Regions from separate parts of the Homo sapiens genome. Here regions 2, 3, 4, 5, 6 and 7 are each linked to region 1. Evidence: promoter capture Hi-C in 16 types of primary human blood cells and fetal thymus (Javierre and others, 2016). All regions are on one chromosome and are shown on one strand. The core of a region is centred on a gene start or on the middle of the fragment in contact, and the rest is flanking DNA. Distances in the headings are between cores, read along the strand shown. Region 1 holds the start of SOS2 (SOS Ras/Rho guanine nucleotide exchange factor 2). Region 2 holds the start of ARF6 (ARF GTPase 6). Region 3 has its middle 17 kb from the start of ARF6. Region 4 holds the start of ATL1 (atlastin GTPase 1). Region 5 has its middle 9.1 kb from the start of MAP4K5. Region 6 overlaps MAP4K5 (mitogen-activated protein kinase kinase kinase kinase 5). Region 7 overlaps MAP4K5 (mitogen-activated protein kinase kinase kinase kinase 5).

Evidence for each region. The method cuts DNA at HindIII sites, captures the fragments that hold promoters and counts their contacts. A CHiCAGO score of 5 or more calls a contact.
Region 2: the fragment with the promoter of ARF6 here is called in contact with the fragment with the promoter of SOS2 in region 1 in 11 of 17 cell types (non-activated CD4 T cells, total CD4 T cells, naive CD8 T cells and 8 more); the score reaches 10.6 in non-activated CD4 T cells.
Region 3: a fragment that was not itself captured here is called in contact with the fragment with the promoter of SOS2 in region 1 in 3 of 17 cell types (erythroblasts, M1 macrophages and total B cells); the score reaches 6.0 in erythroblasts.
Region 4: the fragment with the promoter of ATL1 here is called in contact with the fragment with the promoter of SOS2 in region 1 in 2 of 17 cell types (M2 macrophages and M1 macrophages); the score reaches 6.1 in M2 macrophages.
Region 5: a contact is called between a fragment that was not itself captured here and the fragment with the promoter of SOS2 in region 1, in 10 of 17 cell types (monocytes, activated CD4 T cells, M1 macrophages and 7 more). The highest score is 7.8, in monocytes.
Region 6: a fragment that was not itself captured here is called in contact with the fragment with the promoter of SOS2 in region 1 in 7 of 17 cell types (activated CD4 T cells, erythroblasts, M2 macrophages and 4 more); the score reaches 7.6 in activated CD4 T cells.
Region 7: a fragment that was not itself captured here is called in contact with the fragment with the promoter of SOS2 in region 1 in 1 of 17 cell types (erythroblasts); the score reaches 5.1 in erythroblasts.

What each region holds. Positions count from the first base shown.
Region 1 is chr14:50,230,191-50,233,097 of GRCh38, forward strand. It overlaps SOS2 (SOS Ras/Rho guanine nucleotide exchange factor 2), which reads right to left and starts at 1,388. Exons shown (of 23, transcript NM_006939.4): 1 at 1,007-1,388. The coding sequence starts at 1,093. RefSeq lists a silencer at 980-2,059 and an enhancer at 2,210-2,299. The HindIII fragment of the contact is 6,352 bases long and covers 1-2,267 here.
Region 2 is chr14:49,891,586-49,894,492 of GRCh38, forward strand. ARF6 (ARF GTPase 6) reads left to right here and starts at 1,497. Exons shown (of 2, transcript NM_001663.4): 1 at 1,497-1,572; 2 at 1,671-2,907. The coding sequence starts at 2,152. The coding sequence ends at 2,679. RefSeq lists enhancers at 1,057-1,156, 2,027-2,346, 2,377-2,426 and silencers at 1,247-1,636, 1,677-1,866. The HindIII fragment of the contact is 6,329 bases long and covers 1-2,907 here.
Region 3 is chr14:49,908,750-49,911,656 of GRCh38, forward strand. No RefSeq gene overlaps it. Among named protein-coding and RNA genes, the nearest start is that of ARF6, 17 kb to the left of the region's middle. The HindIII fragment of the contact is 4,514 bases long and covers 1-2,907 here.
Region 4 is chr14:50,558,598-50,561,504 of GRCh38, forward strand. It overlaps ATL1 (atlastin GTPase 1), which reads left to right and starts at 1,548. Exons shown (of 14, transcript NM_015915.5): 1 at 1,548-1,702. The coding sequence starts at 1,669. It also overlaps a transcript of MAP4K5 not described here. RefSeq lists an enhancer at 1,642-2,141 and a silencer at 1,883-2,242. The HindIII fragment of the contact is 3,968 bases long and covers 1-2,907 here.
Region 5 is chr14:50,540,197-50,543,103 of GRCh38, forward strand. It overlaps a transcript of MAP4K5 not described here and a transcript of ATL1 not described here. Among named protein-coding and RNA genes, the nearest start is that of MAP4K5, 9.1 kb to the left of the region's middle. The HindIII fragment of the contact is 3,612 bases long and covers 1-2,907 here.
Region 6 is chr14:50,523,571-50,526,477 of GRCh38, forward strand. The region is part of intron 2 of MAP4K5 (mitogen-activated protein kinase kinase kinase kinase 5); the gene reads right to left. Among named protein-coding and RNA genes, the nearest start is that of MAP4K5, 7.5 kb to the right of the region's middle. The HindIII fragment of the contact is 3,320 bases long and covers 1-2,907 here.
Region 7 is chr14:50,503,060-50,505,966 of GRCh38, forward strand. MAP4K5 (mitogen-activated protein kinase kinase kinase kinase 5) reads right to left here. Exons shown (of 33, transcript NM_006575.6): 3 at 1,741-1,798. Among named protein-coding and RNA genes, the nearest start is that of MAP4K5, 28 kb to the right of the region's middle. The HindIII fragment of the contact is 701 bases long and covers 1,136-1,836 here.

The DNA.
Region 1 (2,907 bases), core at 138-2,637:
ATTTAATGTCTGAGGATATATTTTCCAAGTATAGTCTTTTAAATTAATCTTTATTTTTTCCTTATTTTAGAATGTATTCTTGGTTATTTTGCACAAAAGGCAGAAGAGACTAAGTCTGCATTAACGGCAAAGAAAGAAAGCCCCTGCTCAACAGGCATGACAGCTGATCACGCACCTATTCACAGTCTTTAAATGTCTTGATCTTACAGAAGGATTTATTATAAAAATGATCGTATGGTTACTACCTAAATTCACAGAGGAAGACCGCCACCATCTACAGGAAAGATGCACCCTAGCAATGCACCCAAACATGAAAGACTGATTTGCAGGAGTTGCCCCTTTCTTGTTCCTTAAAATGATTTCAAGTCCTAAATCGCAATTTGGTCGTGAAGACACTGAAGACACTGACCAAATTTTCTAAGGGTAATCTCTTGTAAACAGGTAAGACACCGTTTGCAGGAAGTGGGAAGGCGCTTTAAATTTACCTTGAGAACTGTAAAATGAATAAGAATATTATGACTCACTGACATTTCACACATGTGAAACATCCATATTACAAAAAACCATTGCCTCATAAGTGGATACCCTTGACAAGCAAACCGCCTAGGGGGAACACTCCCAAAGAACTTAATTAAAAGTAATTACCCGGCCTGAAAATGTGCTTTTGTTTTAGAAACTGTCTAAATACCAGCGGGACTTTCTCTTGCCCGATTCCAGCCTGAGGACAACAAATTGGTCAACGGCGGAAGTTGCCTGACGAAATGACTGCAACATGAAATCCAGTTTTATGATCATAACAAAACCTTCCTTCCGGGACCAGGCAAAAAAAAAAAACTTGAGAAACGTCCTTCAGAATGCAACAGGCAATTGTGAGCCCCCCATTGCCAGCCAACGAGAAACGGCTCGGCCCCGGGGACTCGAGCCCTGTGGGAGGGACGACCTGCTCCCCGTTAGAAGCTCGGGGGGCCACGGGCCACCCGCCGGCCGCCCCGCCCCTAGCACTGACCTTCCGCAGGGCCGAGACCAACAGTCCCCGCCATTTCGGACTGTTCTCCTCGCTGAAGAACTCGTAAGGCTGCGGCGCCTGCTGCATGGCCCCGGCGACAGCGCCTCCGCATCGGGGGCAGCCCGCGGGCCGGGCCGGTGGCCTGACAGGCAGGGCGCGGGCCGCCTCGCCTCGCCGGCGGCCGCCGCCTCCCGCCCGGGCCGAGGCTACGGCCGAGGCGGCTCGGAGGCGGCGCCGGCGGGCTGGCGGAGACCCCGGGGTCGGCTTCCTCCGCCGAGGCGGCCCTCGCCTCCCGCAGCGCCCGCAGAGGAAGCGCGGCGACCCGCAAGCCCGGGCGACCCCGGGCGGCGACCTCCTTTCCCGGCGGCGCTGGCCCGCTTCTGGGGCGGCTCCTCCTCCTTTGTCTGGGTTCGCGGCCCGTCAGGGGTACAGCTGGCCCAGCCCCGCCCCGACTCCCGCTACGGCCGCGGCGGGCGGTGAGCAGCGGCGGCGGCGGCGGCGGCTGCTCGTCTCCTCATCGCCTCCTCCCCGCCCTCCCAGCCGACAGCGCCGCCCGGCCCTGCCCACTCGAGTCACCTCCACAGAGCTCTGGGGACCGACCCGGAGTGCGCGTCGGGCGAGCGAGCCTCGCTATGGCGCGCACAGCGCTGGCCGCCGTTGCTGCCCCTTTAGCAGCAGCGCAGAGTGCCTTGGGGTCGCCGCTGAGCCCTGAGTCCCAGCAGCCGAGGCTCGGCCCGCCCCCTCGGCCCGGCGCTCATTATCCCGAATAGCCCAAGAGGCCTAACACGGAGCATGCGCGCCGCGGAGCAGGCACAGGCGCCAGCCCGGCGCGGGGGTGCGGGGCCTGGGGCCCCGGGGGAGTCCGCTTTTCCCGAGACTGTGCTGGGGGCCGCTCCAGACTCTTCAGTTTGACTGCTTTTTACCCATATGCTCCCTCCTCTCGACCTGCTTAAGACAATCCGGACTCGGTGCCACTCTTGTAGCGCTGGAGCCCCAGGACTACCGTCGTGGGAGGCTGCATAGGGACGTGGAGAGAAAGGGGCATTCGGGCTGGACAGGATATTTAACGTATTTGTGCTCTACGTGGCTTGTTTTCATGAGTACCGTATGTTTACACAAAGTAGGTACTATATATAATATATCGTTAGGAGATACAGTAACTATTTCTTAGGGTGATGGTGTGGGGACCGAGAGATGAGGCGTGGAAAGCCCTTAGCCTGGTGGTAGGGTCAGAAGGGGCAGATGACAGTGACGTTGATCAAGCTTGAATTGAAAGGTCCTTCACTTGCACGGGCCCCTGTGCGTTCACAAAATCATATCGTTTTTACAAAACTTTCAAGATATTTTCGAATTGTTTTCTTAATCGTGTCATCCAAATTGTGTAGGCTTCAGGTCCTACAAAACCTGGATCGGCGTCTAGGAAACACTCATTAGCAACCCAGAAAAGATCCTGACAAGCTTTTCAATCCAAAGAGGCATAGGCTCTGGTAACTCATTACCACAAATTTCATCCCACTAAAGAGGCTGAGCACATTACTTTTAACAGGTTGTAAAGAAGATATTTTACTCCCTGTCCCTAGCCACCAGCAGTGAGAAAGGGAAAAGACGAACAGGGTACAAAAAATAAGTCAGTACTACAATTCAGTTCCGGCATCAGTAGCTGAGCAATTATTCTCCCCAAAACATGCACCACTTTTTCATTTGGGCAAAATCAGAATGGCAGAGTTGGAAAATAAGATTATTTTTCTAATCCACTAAAGTATCCACTAAATCAAGAACATCCTCTAATAAATGGCCATATCCATTCACATGTACTTGGGATAAAAGGTGGGATGGTAAAATGCTTGTATTTCTCCCATTAATGTTTCAGTCTGTGAGAGCGAAGACTTTGGCTTATATAG
Region 2 (2,907 bases), core at 247-2,746, 340 kb before region 1:
GTTATCATATAACCTATCTACCATTATCTAATATTTTAAATTTGTTTAATAAAAACAGTATGTTACCATATGCTGTTTATAGCATCTTGCTTTTTAAACAAAGATACCCATTTCCTGTTTTTCTCCCCTTGATATTTGAAGGTTTCACGTTATTTTAAGTCTAATTTTATCATTAACCATTTGATACAAAAATGTGTCCTTGGCAGGGCGCAGTGGCTCACGCCTGTAATCCCAGCATTTTGGGGGGCCGAGGCGGGTGGATCACCTGAGGTCAGGACTTCGAGACCAGCCTGGCCAACATGGTGAAACCCCGTCTCTACTAAAAATACAAAAATTAGCCGGGCGTGGTGGTGGGCGACCTAATTCCAGCTGCTCCGGAGGCTAAGGCAGAACTGCTTGAACCCAGGATGAGGAGGCTGCAGTGAGCCGAGATTGTGCAACTGGACTCCAGCCTGGGCGACAGAGTGAGACCCCGTCTCAAGAAACAAACAAAAACCAAAAAACCAAAAATGTGCCCTGAAGTCTTCCACATTGTATTATTTAAGCCTCACGTGAGTTAGCAAGGTCAGTTTACACGAGATAAACTTAGTAAGGTTAAGTGCCCAGATCCAGGCCATACAAGCGGTCGTTCTATATTCTAAATTCTATGCTTCTTAAAGTTAAGAATGGGTAGTAGTTAAGAAGCTACTACTAACAGTATGAGATAAAATGATATTTTAAAGATGAACAGATGTCGCATTCTAAAAAGGTGAAAACGCGGCAAGGCACAGGAACTCTTCATAATACTGCAGTTTTTAAGAAACATGGGCTGGTCTTGACGAGACCTATAGGCAGACAGGGCTCAAACATTCAAAAGAGCTGCAGAGTAAACTCAACTCCGGGAAAGCGCTGCACTGACTGGCAGATTCCACACGAGACACTGGCCTCCCACGTGTCTTTCAGGAAACATACAAAATTCAAGGGATAAAGGAAGCCAAGAAGGGGTTGCGAAAAAGGGAAAAAAAAAAAAAACAAAAGCGAACAGAGCTTCCCTGGGACGTTCAGGGAGCGCGGAGGGTGCGGGAAGGCTGGGGCGGGCGGAGGGAATTCGCAGAGCATCTGGCGGGCACCGAGGTCTGGGAACAGGCCTGGAGGCAGCTCGGTTCGTGGAGAGAGCGGGCTGCCCGTGGGCCCCACCCTGTAGGGCCCCCCAGTAGATCTGCTCCCTTGGTTCGGGTGGGCAGGGGAGGGCAGAGCGCAAAAGAGAAAAGCAGGGAAGGAGACGCTAGAAGAGCCACGGGTAGGCGCGAGTCAGAGTCCGAGGTTCGAGGGCTCTGGGCCGGCCGCATCTGCGAGCCCTCCGAGGCGCCGTAGCCCCGCCCCTCCGGCGCGTGGCGCCCATGACGCTAGGCGCGCGGGCCGCTCTCCTTACAGAGGTCGCTCTTGTCCGAACGGTCGGCCTCTGCTGCGCCTGCGTGGTCGGGAGGGGAAGTGAGGCGGTTTCCTCGGCGCCTTTTCCGGCAGCGGCGGCGGCAGAACTGGGAGGAGGAGTTGGAGGCCGGAGGGAGCCCGCGCTCGGGGCGGCGGCTGGAGGTAACCCCTTGGGCCGAGCTGGAAAGGCGGGCCACCTCGGTCTTCGCTCCTTTGTGGAGCTCTGGCAGTAACTCCCCTCCCTCTCTGTTTCTCTGCAGGCAGCGCACCGAGTTCCCGCGAGGATCCATGACCTGACGGGGCCCCGGAGCCGCGCTGCCTCTCGGGTGTCCTGGGTCGGTGGGGAGCCCAGTGCTCGCAGGCCGGCGGGCGGGCCGGAGGGCTGCAGTCTCCCTCGCGGTGAGAGGAAGGCGGAGGAGCGGGAACCGCGGCGGCGCTCGCGCGGCGCCTGCGGGGGGAAGGGCAGTTCCGGGCCGGGCCGCGCCTCAGCAGGGCGGCGGCTCCCAGCGCAGTCTCAGGGCCCGGGTGGCGGCGGCGACTGGAGAAATCAAGTTGTGCGGTCGGTGATGCCCGAGTGAGCGGGGGGCCTGGGCCTCTGCCCTTAGGAGGCAACTCCCACGCAGGCCGCAAAGGCGCTCTCGCGGCCGAGAGGCTTCGTTTCGGTTTCGCGGCGGCGGCGGCGTTGTTGGCTGAGGGGACCCGGGACACCTGAATGCCCCCGGCCCCGGCTCCTCCGACGCGATGGGGAAGGTGCTATCCAAAATCTTCGGGAACAAGGAAATGCGGATCCTCATGTTGGGCCTGGACGCGGCCGGCAAGACAACAATCCTGTACAAGTTGAAGCTGGGCCAGTCGGTGACCACCATTCCCACTGTGGGTTTCAACGTGGAGACGGTGACTTACAAAAATGTCAAGTTCAACGTATGGGATGTGGGCGGCCAGGACAAGATCCGGCCGCTCTGGCGGCATTACTACACTGGGACCCAAGGTCTCATCTTCGTAGTGGACTGCGCCGACCGCGACCGCATCGATGAGGCTCGCCAGGAGCTGCACCGCATTATCAATGACCGGGAGATGAGGGACGCCATAATCCTCATCTTCGCCAACAAGCAGGACCTGCCCGATGCCATGAAACCCCACGAGATCCAGGAGAAACTGGGCCTGACCCGGATTCGGGACAGGAACTGGTATGTGCAGCCCTCCTGTGCCACCTCAGGGGACGGACTCTATGAGGGGCTCACATGGTTAACCTCTAACTACAAATCTTAATGAGCATTCTCCACCCATCCCCTGGAAGGAGAGAAATCAAAAACCCATTCATAGGATTATCGCCACCATCACCTCTTTCAATTGCCACTTTCTCTTCTTTTGAATTTGAACTCTGGAGTTACTGTTCTACAGTTTGGCGGGGACGGGGCTTGGGGGTTTTCTCTTTTGTTTGTTTCCCTTTCTTTTTCCTTTTTTTTTTTTTTTTTTTTTTGTTGGCTTTGCGTTAGG
Region 3 (2,907 bases), core at 114-2,613, 320 kb before region 1:
TTATTTTTGAAACTTTAAAAATCTCAAATGGTGTCAGGCGTGGTGGCTCACACCTGTAATCCCAGCACTTTGGGAGGCCAAGGCGGGTGGATCATGAGGTTAGGAGATCGAGACCATCCTGGCTAACACGGTGAAACCCTGTCTCTACTGAAAATACAAAAAAAAATTAGCCGGGCGTGGTGGCGGGCGCCTGTAGTCCCAGCTACTCAGGAGGCTGAGGCAGGAGAATGGTGTGAACCCTGGAGGCGGAGCTTTCAGTGAGCCGAGATCGCGCCACTGTGCTCCAGCCTGGGCAACAGAGTGAGACTCCGTCTCAAAAAAAAAAAAAAATCTCAAATGTAACTAATGATCAAGTCTGTAGGTAAACATAGATAGGTCTCTCAAGGTAAACGCTGGCATATTATATAAAAAATTCTTGACCTTTTATGATTGATTGCTTGTCTTTATGACTTGGACTCTTTTTATAAGATTGGATTGCATTTTTAATTCTCTCCAACTCATGAGTAATACTTGATTTATGACAGTAAATGCATTTTACACAAGAACCTAATATTTAGAAACTTACTGAAGTATCTTAAATCCTGTTTTTGTCATCAAGACAAACTTGAATTAAAGACTAAAACATTACATTTTTATTTTTTATTTTTTTTGCTTAGTATAATAATATGGTAGTGGTATCTTAGGGGAAATGTTTTAAATAAATACTAATATATCTTTTTCTTTTATTATTTCTTGGGTATCTTGTTGAATACAGTATGGATTTTAGACTAGCATGACAACATTTCTAAATTGCCTTCTGGTCAAGAGTGGTGGTTCACACCTGTAATCCCAGTACTTTGGGAAGCCAAGATGGAAGGATTGCTTGAGGCCAAGAGTTTGAGACCCACCTGGGCAATATAGTGAGACCATGTCTGTTTTTTTTTTCTTTTTTTCAATAGAGATGAGGTTTTGCCATGTTGGCCAGGCTCGTCTCGAACTCCTGAGGCTCAAGTGAACCACCCACCTCGGCCTCCCAAAGCGCTGGGATTACAGGTGTGAGCCACCACACCCAGCTAGACCACATCTCTTTTTAAACAATCAATCAATCAATCAATCAATCAATCAATATGGTTGGCAGGGCTATTGTTTCCATATGCTTAGACATCCTAGACATGTTAATTTTTCTCCTTTCAAACCTATGGTAATTTCTAGGTTCTTTTTCTTGCTGCATGTCCCAATCTAATAAAACCTAAAGTGTTACCCACTGATACACCTCAGGGTCCATGCTGCTTTGCTGAGCATCAAAATAGTGATTTAGGAAATTGTGATTTCTGGATTCTGGATTACAGTGTTAGAAATACCCAAGAAATTAGGATCTGGAAACATCCTATGTATGATGCTATGAAGGCCATTCATTGAATGGAAAAAGGATTGAAGATGGAAGAGAACCTCCTTTCCTCATATAAGCCATATATGATACTTATCTTTTTTTTTTGAGATGGAGTTTCACTCTATCATCCAGGCTGGAGGGCAGTCGCGGGATCTTTGTGGCTCTCTGCAACCTCCGCCTCCTGGGTTCAAGGGATTCTCCTGCCTTAGCCTCCTGAGTACCTTGGATTACAGGTGTGTGCCACCACACTTAGCTGATTTTTGTATTTTTAGTAGAGATGGGGTTTTGCCATGTTTGCCAGGCTGGTCTTGAACTCCTGACCTCAGGTGATCCACCTGCCTCAGCCTTCCAAAGCGCTGGGATTACAGGCATGAGACATTGTGTCCAGCCCTTCCTACCTTTTTTTTTTTTTTTTTTTTTGCAAGCATTTTTAGTTTCCTTTCTGACAGGATTGATTTGGGTAAAGAACATTGAATTTTGAGTCAATAGTCTCAAATAGATAGACCTATGTTTGAATTCCAACCCTGACCTCAATAGCTAAGTGACACTGGAAAATCTATCTCTTTGTCTCAGTTTTCCTGCTAAAAATCGGGATGGTAATGTTCACCCAGCAAGGCTTTATCACAAAAAGTGGTAACTTATGAGAAAGTCCCTATCTGGCATGGTAAGCACTCAAGAGAAATTAGTTCTATTTTCCTTCTTCCCTCTAGTTTAATAATTTAAAAAATTAAATCATGCAGCCATAAAAAAGAATGAAATTATGTCCTTTGCAGCAACAAGGATGCAGTTGGAGGCCATTATCCTAAGCGAATTAACACAGAAACAGAAAACCTAATGCCGCACATTCTTACTTATAAGTGGGAGCTAAACACTGGGTACACACAGACACAAAGATGGGAACAGTAGGCATTGGGGATTCAAAAAGGCAGAAGAGAGGAAGGGGGGCCAGGTTTGAAGAACTACTTGTGTTCACTACTTGGATGATGGGATCATTAGAGGCCTAAACCTCAGCATCATGCAATATACCCATGTAACAAACCTGTGCCCGTACCCTCTGAATCTTGGATAAAAAAATAAAAGCAGGCCAGGAGCGGTGGCTCATCCCTATAATCCCAGCACTTTGGGAGGCTGAGGCGGGCGGATCACTTGAGGTCAGGAGTTCGAGCCCAGCCTGGCCAACATGATGATACCCCATCTCTACTAAAAATACAAAAATTAGCTGGGCACAGTGGTGGGCGCCTGTAGTCCCAGCTACTCGGGAGGCTGAGGCAGGAGAATCACCTGAACCCAGGAGGCCGATGTTGCAGTGAGCCAAGATTGCGCTGCTACACTCCAGCCTGGGTGACAGAGTGAGACTCCATCTCAAAAAAAAAAAAAAAAAAAAAAATATATATATATATATATATATATACACACACACACACACACACACACACACATACACATACACACACATACATATATTCAGTGAAAAAGATATTCTCAAGGTGATAAGAAACCAACTATTTGTTGTATTTTACCTTTTAATAGGTAACAAT
Region 4 (2,907 bases), core at 298-2,797, 330 kb after region 1:
AAATTAATTTCTTTTTCAATTGGGCATAGGTGTTGAATTATATAAATTTTTTCTTTTTTGTGTGTAATCTATTGTACTCTTAAAAATGGGATTCATATGAAAGGGATTTTCAGGCTGGAATGTAAGCTGAGAATGATAGTAAAGGAATATAAGAAGAAAAGCAGACCACACTTCTCTTTTGTTCTATGAACTTGGTTTATAGGTATAAGGATGAGATAATGTCTGTCTTCCTATGTTGTTTCATTAATGTCATTTCAACTCTGTTGAGCACAGACTTCTTTAAAACCATGTTGTAAACTTGGTTACAGTGTTCACGACTCTGCAGTCACTAGAACCAGTAACTGAAATATAATGCATAAGATTTGGCAGTGGTGGGGGAGTTTGTTTTCAGATATGTTGATGTTCAAATGTCAGTAGGAAAACAACGTGAGGATAACCTTAGGCAGTTATAAACACACCTCTGGTATAATGTCCTCTCTTCTAGAGGGCAGAAGACTACAAGTATAGATTTGGGAATCATCAGCATGGAGGTCCTGTCTGAAGCCATCATAGTAAATTACATTGAGAGAGTGTAGCGTGAGGAGTTGCTTACCATGAGGAATTAGCAGAGATCATGGATCTGGTAATTAAGAGGCTGGCAGTGATCTCCTAAGAACCGATCAGTACAGAGTGTGAGTAACAACCAAATGGCAGAAGGAAACTGTAAGGGACGGCATGATGGTATCTTGAGGTTGAGGTAGTATAAAGGGACAGTGTTTCCAGGTTACTGAAAACAACTAAGTTTGTAGCAGAGAGAAAGCAGTGAAAAGGGAAAGATTGAAAGTATTTTTATTTTTTTTCTTTTCCTTTCAAAATTGTCTGCAACCTTTATGGCTGCCAGGGCCCACCCATACCCAGACTATGTAGTATGATTTCAGCTCAAATAATTGCTATTGGACTATAGGTCTGGACCTTATCTTTGCAAATCTAGTGGGAAATTTTACCCAGTGGATATTGAGTTACAGATCGTAATGAATCTACAGCTTTCATTTATCTTGATCTTCTTGATATAAATTTTGCTATTCTAATTTTAAGACAAACTACTCAGTATACATATACAAAAATGCATGATACCCTCTTTACTAACATGACCTTGCTTTTAAAATGGAAAAAAAAATGGGTGCCTCGTAGATAAATGCACATTATTTTAGCTACTTTGGCTATATAAATGTTGCCAGCTTGTTTGTACTAATGTATAACCGTGCTTGAAACAGGTATTTGAACATCCAGAATCATGCAGTATATCGGTTTGTGTATTTCTGATAACGCTGTTAAATTCTTTGAGAGTGTGTTCGAGGGGGGTGCTGTTTATTTGTTTGTGTTTTCCGTTGAAAATGTTGCGGTACGTGGTCTATCACTGTCTTCACGGTCTGGGGGTGGACTGAGGTAGGGAGGGTGTGACGCTGGTATCTGTGTGAACTCGGGCTTGTGATGCTGAGCTTGGTTCATCTGCTTTCTCCTCCCTTTTCCTCCCCACTCCTTCCCACCAGCGCCACAGCAACATCCTCAGAGTCTGAGCGAACTGCGCCCAGCGCGGGCACGGAGCCTCCCACCGCCAGCAACCTGCGGCCCCGGAGAAGGCAGCGAGCGCAGTGACAGCGCCTCACCGCCACCAGCTCCTGGACCACCATGGCCAAGAACCGCAGGGACAGAAACAGTTGGGGTGAGTAGCAAATGAGAACTTCTGCAGCCTGCACGGGGTCTTCTGGCCCTCCACTTTCTGCTTCTGTGGAGACAGGGAGGGCCAAGGGCTGCTAGGTGCCTGCGTCCACGGCTGGGAGACGGGCCGTAGCCGAGCCGCTCCCTGTTTGGGCGGAGGAACCATGGCCGAGCGGTACCCGCGTCACCGAATCGCGCTGTCGGGGTGAGGGCTGCAGCTTCGCGCAGGCCGGGCCTCCAGCTCCTTCTTCCCCACCCCCCTCCCGCCTCCTCCCAGCATTTGGACAGCACCCACCAGGCGCCTCCGGGGACTTGTGGGTTCCGCCTTAGCGATCGGTTGGGAGGAAGGCTATGGGGGTGGGCAGGGGGCTGTTGTTACTCGGCCCCAGAGGGGCGAGGGGTCGGGGATCTAGAGCAGGCCAAGCCCCAACCCCCCTCCCCGGGAGCCGCCAACTCGCTGGCTCTGCAGGGCGCGGGCTCCCGGCGGCGGGCGGCGGGCGGCGCGCTGGAACAATGAGGCGGAGCGCGCCGGGTCCCGGACGGACGGTAGCAGACCGAGCAACTGGGAGAAGGGCCACCCTCTTGGGAATTCCTGAGCACTGCAGTACTCCTCTTAATTTGGGGGTTGGGTGGGGGAATTGGGGAAGAAGGAGAGCAAAGTTGTGGTTTCCAGCCTTCTGCCCCACCCCGACGTGGTACCCCATTCAGACCAGCCCCAAGGGTGGCTTTGTTCTTTGATTTTACCTTTTGGAGACATTGGGCTCATGATTCAGCACCAGGCCGAGGGGAGGGGAAAGGAGAGGCGAGACCCAGTATGTTCACACCGCGAGTGGGTGGGCGGTGCTCACGCAGGCGGAGAAGAACGGGCGCAGCGATGCGGAAGAAATCGCGGCCCCGCCCGCCTTGCTGCTCCAGACCTAGTTCTGGACGGTTAGTGTGGGCAGGCTGGGCGTCTTTTTGTCGTAGGTTCCCGATTTCTTGCAGTCACAGTGCTAAACTCACCAGCATCTTAGGAACGAAAGCCCTCTAAGGCATTTATTTTATTATCTGAACCAGAGAATGTCTCAGGCTACTGTGGCTTGGTGGGTAAATAAATATTTTGTTCATCAGCTTGTTATTTAGAAATTGTTATTTGGAAATAACAGTTGTTATTATTTGAAAAGTTCAGAGCTGCTTGATTCTGTTCCACATCTCAGTGAGAGCTCTTCT
Region 5 (2,907 bases), core at 180-2,679, 310 kb after region 1:
GAAATCAGGATGTTTTGATTGCAAGGATAGGTGGTGCTATCCTATTATTAATCCCTGAGTCTCTAGGAATGAATAAAACCATCAGCGTACTTAAGTGCCATTTGACATATGTAGGTGGAAAAATCCTGGGACTGATTGGTAGAAACCTAACTGAAATCTCTGTAACAGAGATTCAAGACATATTACCTGAATCTTAGACATAAACCAATTCACAAACCTGGAGTCCCTTAATTAAGGGTGAGGGCGGATGTCTTTGAGGGAGAGTCCCATAGTGCAGCCAGGTATAAACGGTGACTTTTCCCCAAGGCCATTTCCAGAGGTACTTGTAGCCTTTTACCAGGGTGATTGTGAGCTAAGGAATGGGTGATTCTCATACATTCTGGAGGTTAATTGATATTAGCTCTAAATAATAATCTCTGCAGTCTCAAAATACCGCCAAAATTCCAGTGATTAAAGTAGAGATTTAAGAAAGTCAAGTGGGACTAAAGATCCACTCTGGAGTTATTTTTCCAGTCCCAAAATATATGTGAGTATAGATATATTGAGTAGCAGAATTCCTACATTAGGTTTCTAGGGAGCTATTATGATAGGTAGGAACAAGTGTAACCTCCCTAGCTAACTTCTTACCCATGCCAAAGTAGAATACCAAGATTAAATTTGATCTCCAGGGAAATTACAGAGATTAGTGCCACCATTAAAGATATGAAAGATACAAGTCTTTTCCTTTTAACTCCTCTTGGCTTGTGCAATAGCCAAATTAGTTTTGGAGAATGTGGATTATTAAAAATTTAATCAAATGTTGATGCTAGTCATAGTTGTGGTTCCACATATGGGGGATCTTTACTAGAGCAAATCAGAACAGCTCTTGGCACCTAGAAGGTAGCTATTGACTTGAAAACTAGAAAGTAGCTTTCTTTTCAATTCCCGTCAGCAAAAATAATCAGAAGCAGTTTGCTTTCACATGATTGCAACAGCACTGTCATTGTACTACCTCAGGGATATTTAAAGACTTCTGTTCTATGATAGAGTATCATTCCAGAGGGACCTTTGTTTCCTTGATATCCAGTAGAATATCATGGTAGTCTTTTATCTTGATAACATTATGCAAATTGCACCTTGTGAGCAGGAAGTAGCAACCACCCTACATACTTTAAAAAATACCACTAATACCAGAGAACGAGAGATAAACCCAGTTCAGGAACCTGACACATTAGTGACATTTCTAACAAGGAAGTAGTGCTCTACCTTGTATCATCCACCTTAAAGATGCACAGTGTTTGTTTGGCCTGTTTGTATTTTGAGACAATGTACTGCATTTGCTACTCTTTGACCCATGTAACCTGTATGACTGCCACCTTGTTCATATCACTTGGAACTACATAATGTACTACAGAGAAGGCTATGATGCAAGCTGCCCTGACACTTAGGCTTTAGGATTCAGCAGACCCAATGGTAAACAGGAAACTGTATGGAGTCTCTTGCAACCCCAGTAGGAGAATCCCAATGCAGACCCCTAGGATTTTGGTATAAGAATATGCTGTTGGCCAGGCGCGGTGGCTCACGCCTGTAATCCCAGCATTTAGGGAGGCCGAGGCAGGAGGATCACGAGGTCAGGAGATTGAGATCACGGTGAAACCCCATCTCTCTAAAAATACAAAAAATTAGCTGGGTGCGGTGGCGAGTGCCTGTAGTCCCAGCTACTTGGGAAGCTGAGGCAGGAGAATGGCATGAACCCAGGAGGCAGAGCTTGTAGTGAGCCGAGATCGCGCCACTGCACTCCAGCCTGGGCGACAGAGCGAGATTCCGTCTCAAAAAAAAAAAAAAAAAAAAAAAAAAAAAAAAAAAAAAAAAAGAATATGCTGTTATCTGCTGACAGCTATTGTCTGTTTGAAAGGCAACTCTTGATTTACTTCTAGGTCTTAGTAGAGGCTAGACTCCTGACCACAGGATACTAAGTAACTATGTGACATTAACTGCTCTTTAGAAATTGGGAGTTACCCTGCATGTTCTCACTCATAAGTGAGAGTTGAACAATGAGAACACGTGGACACAGGGAGGGGAACATCACACACCGGGGGCCTGTGGTGTCGGGGGGAGGGGGTTGGGGGCAAGGGGAGAGAGAGCACTAGGACAAATACCTAATGCATACGGGACTTAAAACCTAAATGACAGGTTGATAGGTGCAGCAAACTACCATGGCATATGTATACCTGTGTAACAAACCTGCACATTCTGTACAGGTATCCCAGAACTTAAAGTAAAATTAAAAAAATAAAAGAAAATAAAAGAAATTGGATGTTACCTAATTTACTGGATCGTAAGTTGAACATGGGCAGCAGAATTCCGTTGTCAAATGGAAGAGTATACACTGAGGTGGCCTGAGATGATCTGGAAGACACAAGTAAATCATATGGAACAAATGTCCATTGGACCTGCCCTTACTTCTTTGCCACCTGTTTTTTTTTCAACCCATTATCTATAGGCTCATAGCCATTTAGCAGGGGAAGAAAAAGTTTAGGCTTGGTTTATTAATGGTCTGCATAATATGCTAGCACCAACTTGAAGCAGAGAGCCACAGAATTCTGTGCCCACACCATAATGGGGTGGCCCTGAAAGATAGGAGGAGAAATTCTCCCAGTGGATATAACTTTGAACAATACATCTGGTTGTCCTCTTTTTTAGGAAGAAGAGCTGATCTGAGGTATGGATCTGTACTGATTCATGCACAGTAGCTAATAGGTTGGTCAATTACTTGGAAGGAAGAAGATTTGAGATAAGGAAGTCAGTGGGAGAAGTATTATGGATGGATTCTTAAAATTGCCCAGAATGTGAAAATAACTGTGAACTACAATACTGCCCAGCAGAGGGCATCCATCTCGATAGTTATACAAGAAGATCTGTTCTCCA
Region 6 (2,907 bases), core at 262-2,761, 290 kb after region 1:
GACCATCCTTATATAATTCCCCAACCTGCCTTCTTCACTCCATTCAGGCATTCCTGATCCTCCTTAACCATTCAACCTTTTCTTCTTTCTATACCTTTAATCTCCTTGTAACGTATTATACAATGTGTTTATTATGTTTGTTGTCTCTCTCCCCCCACTAAAATTTGAGTTCCATGAGGGGAGGAATCTTTGTCCGCTTTGTTCACTAGATGTATCACAAGGCACCACAACAGTGTCTGCCCCATAGGAGGCCTTCTATAAGTATTTGTTGAATGTTAAATACTCCTTTGCATCCTGTCCTCCCAGTTCTCCATCCCAGCTCCCATTCATTAACATGCCTCACTCTAACCATGCTCGCAGTGGAACAACTAGGACTGGAAATAAACAAACAAGGCTCCAGATCAGAAAGGGAGGGAGGTTTTTACATTTATCCCCTACTCTAGTCCCTAAAAATCCATCCTATGTTTTTTCCTTTTATCTGCTTTCTGAATTCTCAATTCCTCCCAAATTCTTTGTCTTGATTTCCTTCTCTGTAGAATTCCATCTCTAAACTCAGCAATCGTCTTAGACACTTGGGTGATACGACAAACTTAAAGAATGGTAACTGAATGCTGTAATCACTCAGTCTTGATGAAAGTAAAACCCTGAAACAAGAAGAAACATTTGTGTGCCTCATTTCTCTTTCCTGTCATAGCTAAGCTGCTTCAGAGAGCAGGCTACATTCCCTCTACTTCCTCACTTACCAATCATACCTCAACTCTACTCTTAATGAACCCTTCCAACTCCTTGCTTACATGACCACTATGCTGCTTACTCCTTCAAGGCATATTTATTGACCACATACTATATACTAGGCAATATACTAGTACAGGTGTTTCAACAGTAAACATAAGATCTCTGTTCTCATGCAGTTTTAGTCTACCAGGAAGACAAGCAAAAATGAGAAGTGATAAATGATGAGTATCATGATAAAAAATGTACATGGAGCTTTGAAAACATACAGCTGCTAGGTGTGACCTACTCTAAGGGACAGAAAAGCCCCCCCACCGAGAAATGTAATGTTTAAACAGAAACCCAAAGAGTAGGCGATAAGATGGAAGAGAAAGAGTGTTCTAAAGGAATACCTGCAAAAATCTGAAAGACAGAGAGTAGAGTGCATATAAAGAACTGAAAGTTCAGTATGGATACGGTATTGGGATAAGCAGGGCCTTAACAGGAATATTATTCTAAGACTTTATTCTACAGACAAAGGAAATAAAGGAGAAATGACACAAAACTTCAGATTTATATTTTTTGGAGAATGAATTCATCTTCCTCATTGCAGTTAGAGCAAACAGGAACAAGAATGGAGGCAGCTGATGATAGAGATCATCTCTTGAAACTTTTCGTTCCTATGAAAAGAACTTCCTCATACCGCTTTGTTTCTTCTCAGACACCTTCAATATATTATTTTTCTCTGCCACCCCTCTAAGGCTACAGCCTTTCCTCAGCTCTCCTACAAACTCTCCTGGGTGACCTCACCTATATTTCACAGGTACCACCCCATAAAGTGATGATGACTCCCAAACCTGTATCCCCAGTCCAGAACTCTCAAGGCCAGAGGTGCATTTCCTACCACCTACCAGACACATTCACCTATGCAATGCCTTATGTTCAAAACCAAACACAAAATCCAGACTCCACATATTTGGTATTTCCTAACTCTGTTGATAGCATCAATGTAGTCACTCAAGCCAGAAATTCTAAATGCCATCAATTACCCTTCTCCTCCTGCCCCTCACCGATTACCAGGTGTTTTTGATCATCTTCTAAATATGACTCAAATCCATCCCTTCCTTTCATCTTCTATACCAGGGCCTAAATTTAGTCTTGCATAAACTCTCATCCGGATTATTCGGGAACTGGTCTCTACATTTCTAGCCACTTTGTAAAATCCTTACACTACACTGTAAGATATTTCCTCCTAAAAAGTGTTTCTCTAGTCCGGGCACAGTGTACTCACACCCTAAAATCCCAGCACTTTGGGAGGCAGAGGTGGATGGATTGCTTGAGCCTCCGAGTTCAAGACCAGCCTGGGCAACATGGCGAAACCCCACCTTTACAAAAAAATAAAATAAAATACAGAAATTAACTGGGCATGGCAGTGTGTGCCAGTCCCAGCTACTCAGGAGGCTGAAGTGGGAGGATCACTTGAGCCTGGGAGGCGGAGGGTCTAGTGAGCTGAGATCATGCCACTACACTGCAGCCTAAGTGAAAAAGTAAGACCCTGTCTCAAAAAAATAAAAATAAATAATTGAAAAGGTCCAAATTCTTTGATATGACACATGGAGTCCATTAGCTGGTGTTTCCTGCCAGAAAATAGCCTCTATTCTCCATCTATAAAATAATAAAAATAAATAATTGAAATGACATCTCTGCCAGATGTCACACTGAACCTGGAATGAATACAGATGCAGATCTCTCAAAACTCATCACGGCTTCTCAAGCCTCCAGGTGTTTGCACATACTATACCCAAAGCCTGGAATATCTTTTCCTATCTTCTCTACCTAGAAACCACTGGTCTTCTTTTAAAAATCCAGTTAATGTTCCTTCCTCTGTTAATCTTCCTTGGTTCACACTCCTCTCTCTCCCTTCCTTCATCCCCAATAAAGGCAGAGTTTGGCATTTCTTCCACTTCTCCTCTATGGCACATAATTTTCTACCAAATTATGACTGCTTACATGTCTGCTTTCTTTTTTCTTTTTTGAGATGGAGTTTTGCTTTTGTTGCCCAGGCTGGAGTGAAGTGGCGCAATCTCAGCTCACTGCAACCTCCGACCCCCGGGTTCAACCAATTCTCTTGCCTCTCCCAAGTAGCTGGGATTATAGGCACCTGCCACCATGCCCGGCTAATTTTTGTATTTTTAA
Region 7 (2,907 bases), core at 236-2,735, 270 kb after region 1:
TCGGAGAGAAAAAAGAACACTTCCACATGGAAAAAAAAAAGTATAAGCAGAGTGCAAAGACAGAAGACAAATTGTGGGAAGTGTAAAATACATGATGAAGAGTCACTATCCCCAAAATGCAAACAGCATCTAAAAATCAATAATAAAATACAAATAACCTGATAGGACTGGGGCAAGGCATAAGAATAGGCAACCAAAAAAATTTTTAAATGGCCAAATACTAAGATCACATCATCAATATTTACTGAACTTCCATGTTATTCTTTTTTGGGGGACAGGTTGAAATATTACTCAATCTTAATACATGGGTCACATCTAACATAAAATAATCAGTAGCTTTTACAAAACAAGGCAGTGAGAAATTCCAGCCTTTCAAAAGAGTCTTATGATCCTTGCATTTAATCCTTATATTTTAAGTAATCATACACATATTTTTCTTTTTTACTGAATTGCCTTCTTATGTTAGTTCTAATATATGGCTTATTGAGAATTCAGAATTGCAGGATTTAAAAAATACACTCATTAATTCATTATAATGAACTATAATATTAGGTTGGCAAAAACTGCTATAATATTAGGTTGGCAAAAACTGCAATTATTTATGCATCAACCTAATGAAAAATAAGCCATACCCTCAAGTCAAGTAAGTGAAACCGTGTTGTAACAAGCCCACTGCACTCGCTTAAGACAGAAAAGGGATAAATATCTTTGTTTTCTCTGAGAGCACACGCCAGTACCTGGACATAACTTGAATAACCATCCTTGAACATAATTTGAATATTTGCTCTAGTGACTTTTCCAGGACAGGCAAAGGCTTGTATAGTTCTGTTATATTCCCTATTTGTGTTAGTGACATTTTGGAGATCATTTTAAACTTATTAGGTGGCACTTAATAAGAGGATCCTGAAAGAGTATTATTATAACAATTTCTATTTGCCAGGACAAAAAAGATACTGGGACATATCTGAAAGCTTATTTTTAAAGTGTTCCAGCATATGCTACCTCAGTACTATTATCTCTCTAATGAATCACATGTATAATGATTCAAATACTGTGTTTGAAATGCAAAGTCATTTTAACCGCTCAAACTAGGAAACTGGCATAATTATGGTCACAAACTTATCCTACGTGCCTAAGCTTATGAACCAGCAAATGAACATACCACCAAATATTCGCTTACCTGGTCAAAAACTACTACTGCACTCATTAGAAACTTTTAGGATATCAAAATCATAAAACCGTTCCAGGACTATAGTTTTATTTGCAAAGCAAACTATTCAATGTGTTTTGAAACAAGCAGTCTTCTGACACACAGAAGTGTTAATAAAATAAGCATTAAGCTAAGACCAGAATTAACAAACCTAAATCAATCAAAGGGAATAGCTGACAAACAAATGTCATTATCCCAAATATTCACCCCAAAAAATCATTGAATACTTTCCTAATCAAATTCTCATAAAAGCTAAACCTGAAGTTCAAATACTTCACTATCATCTTAAAAGAAAATTACTTTAACAGTGTCAATGTGTCTTCCAATTCTGAATGTGTACATGTCAAATTTTATTTGGCAACAAAACTGTCACATCAAACTTACCTTTAACTAACCACCTTCAGGGTAATTTAATTGAAGATATTCTACTGACCTGATAGAACATATAAAGACTTCTTCTGGGAAGAAGGGAAACAAGGAAAGAAATATGGAAAACCCTCAAAAATTGTCTTGAGGGTTTTAACACATACCAGGCTCCAATTTAATGATTTTTACTGCAGCCAGCTCTCCTGTGTGTACATTTCTGGCCTAAAAATAAAATAAAAACAAAAATCTTGTTAATTAAAAGCTTGTTAATTACATTAAAATTACTTGGTACTATGTTAATTGCTTATCAACCATACTTTTATCAAAACTAAAAAACAAAATATTTCCAATAAAATGCTGAGCAAACTCATTTTCCCATTAAAGAAAAATATAGATAAGACACAAAAGTGTTTAAAAAATTACCAATAGTCCCACCACTCAAAAACAGCTCCTGTTTAAAATTTGGTCTACTTCCTCCAAGGCTTTTCTTCAGCCTCGGGTTAGTTAATATTTTTAATTTTAAAAATCTCATGGGTTTTATTTATATCAGAAAACATAATCATAGGTCATTAAAAATTTTCATCATCTGTATCTAACTACCTAGAGAAAAACAGTGAACATTTCAGTGTACATGCATCTCTTTCCTGGTACACATATGTATATGCATGTGCATTATGGAAGAAGATGACCCCATCATAGTCTTCTAAGACATGATTACAAATGCTGCCTGATTTTCCACTGACAGGATATATAATTTACCCAACCCTCTATTGTTGGGCATTTACAATTTTAATATTATTTTCAAGTTATAAAAATAGGGATACATATATCTTAGCTTTGTATCTATCCACAGCCTTATTTCCTTCAGTTAAATGTCTAGAAGAGAAACTATTTACTATTTAACACAATATCAACAAACTTACTATAATTAGCACTGCAATGAATATCATTACCAATATTTTACCATAGATCAGCTTATAAGGAAGGCAACCTAGACATACAATTGTGAGACCAAAAGGTATGTGGACTTATAATGGGTATGTTGCCATATTGCTCTAAAACACTGTGCGAATTTTTACTGTCATCGACCTTGGATGTTAAAACCTTGGATGTTAAAACCATGTCTGCCAAAACTTATTGTTGGTGAAAATTAAATGATTATAACATAGTCCATATAATAATCCTCTTTATTGTTGGACATAAAGGATGTTACATATAGTCTTTTCATTATTTAAGACATATTTGTTTTAAATGGATTCTAAGATACGGTATTACTAGGTCAAAGGTTGTGAATATGAACACATACCATCAAATAGTCTAAAAACATTTTA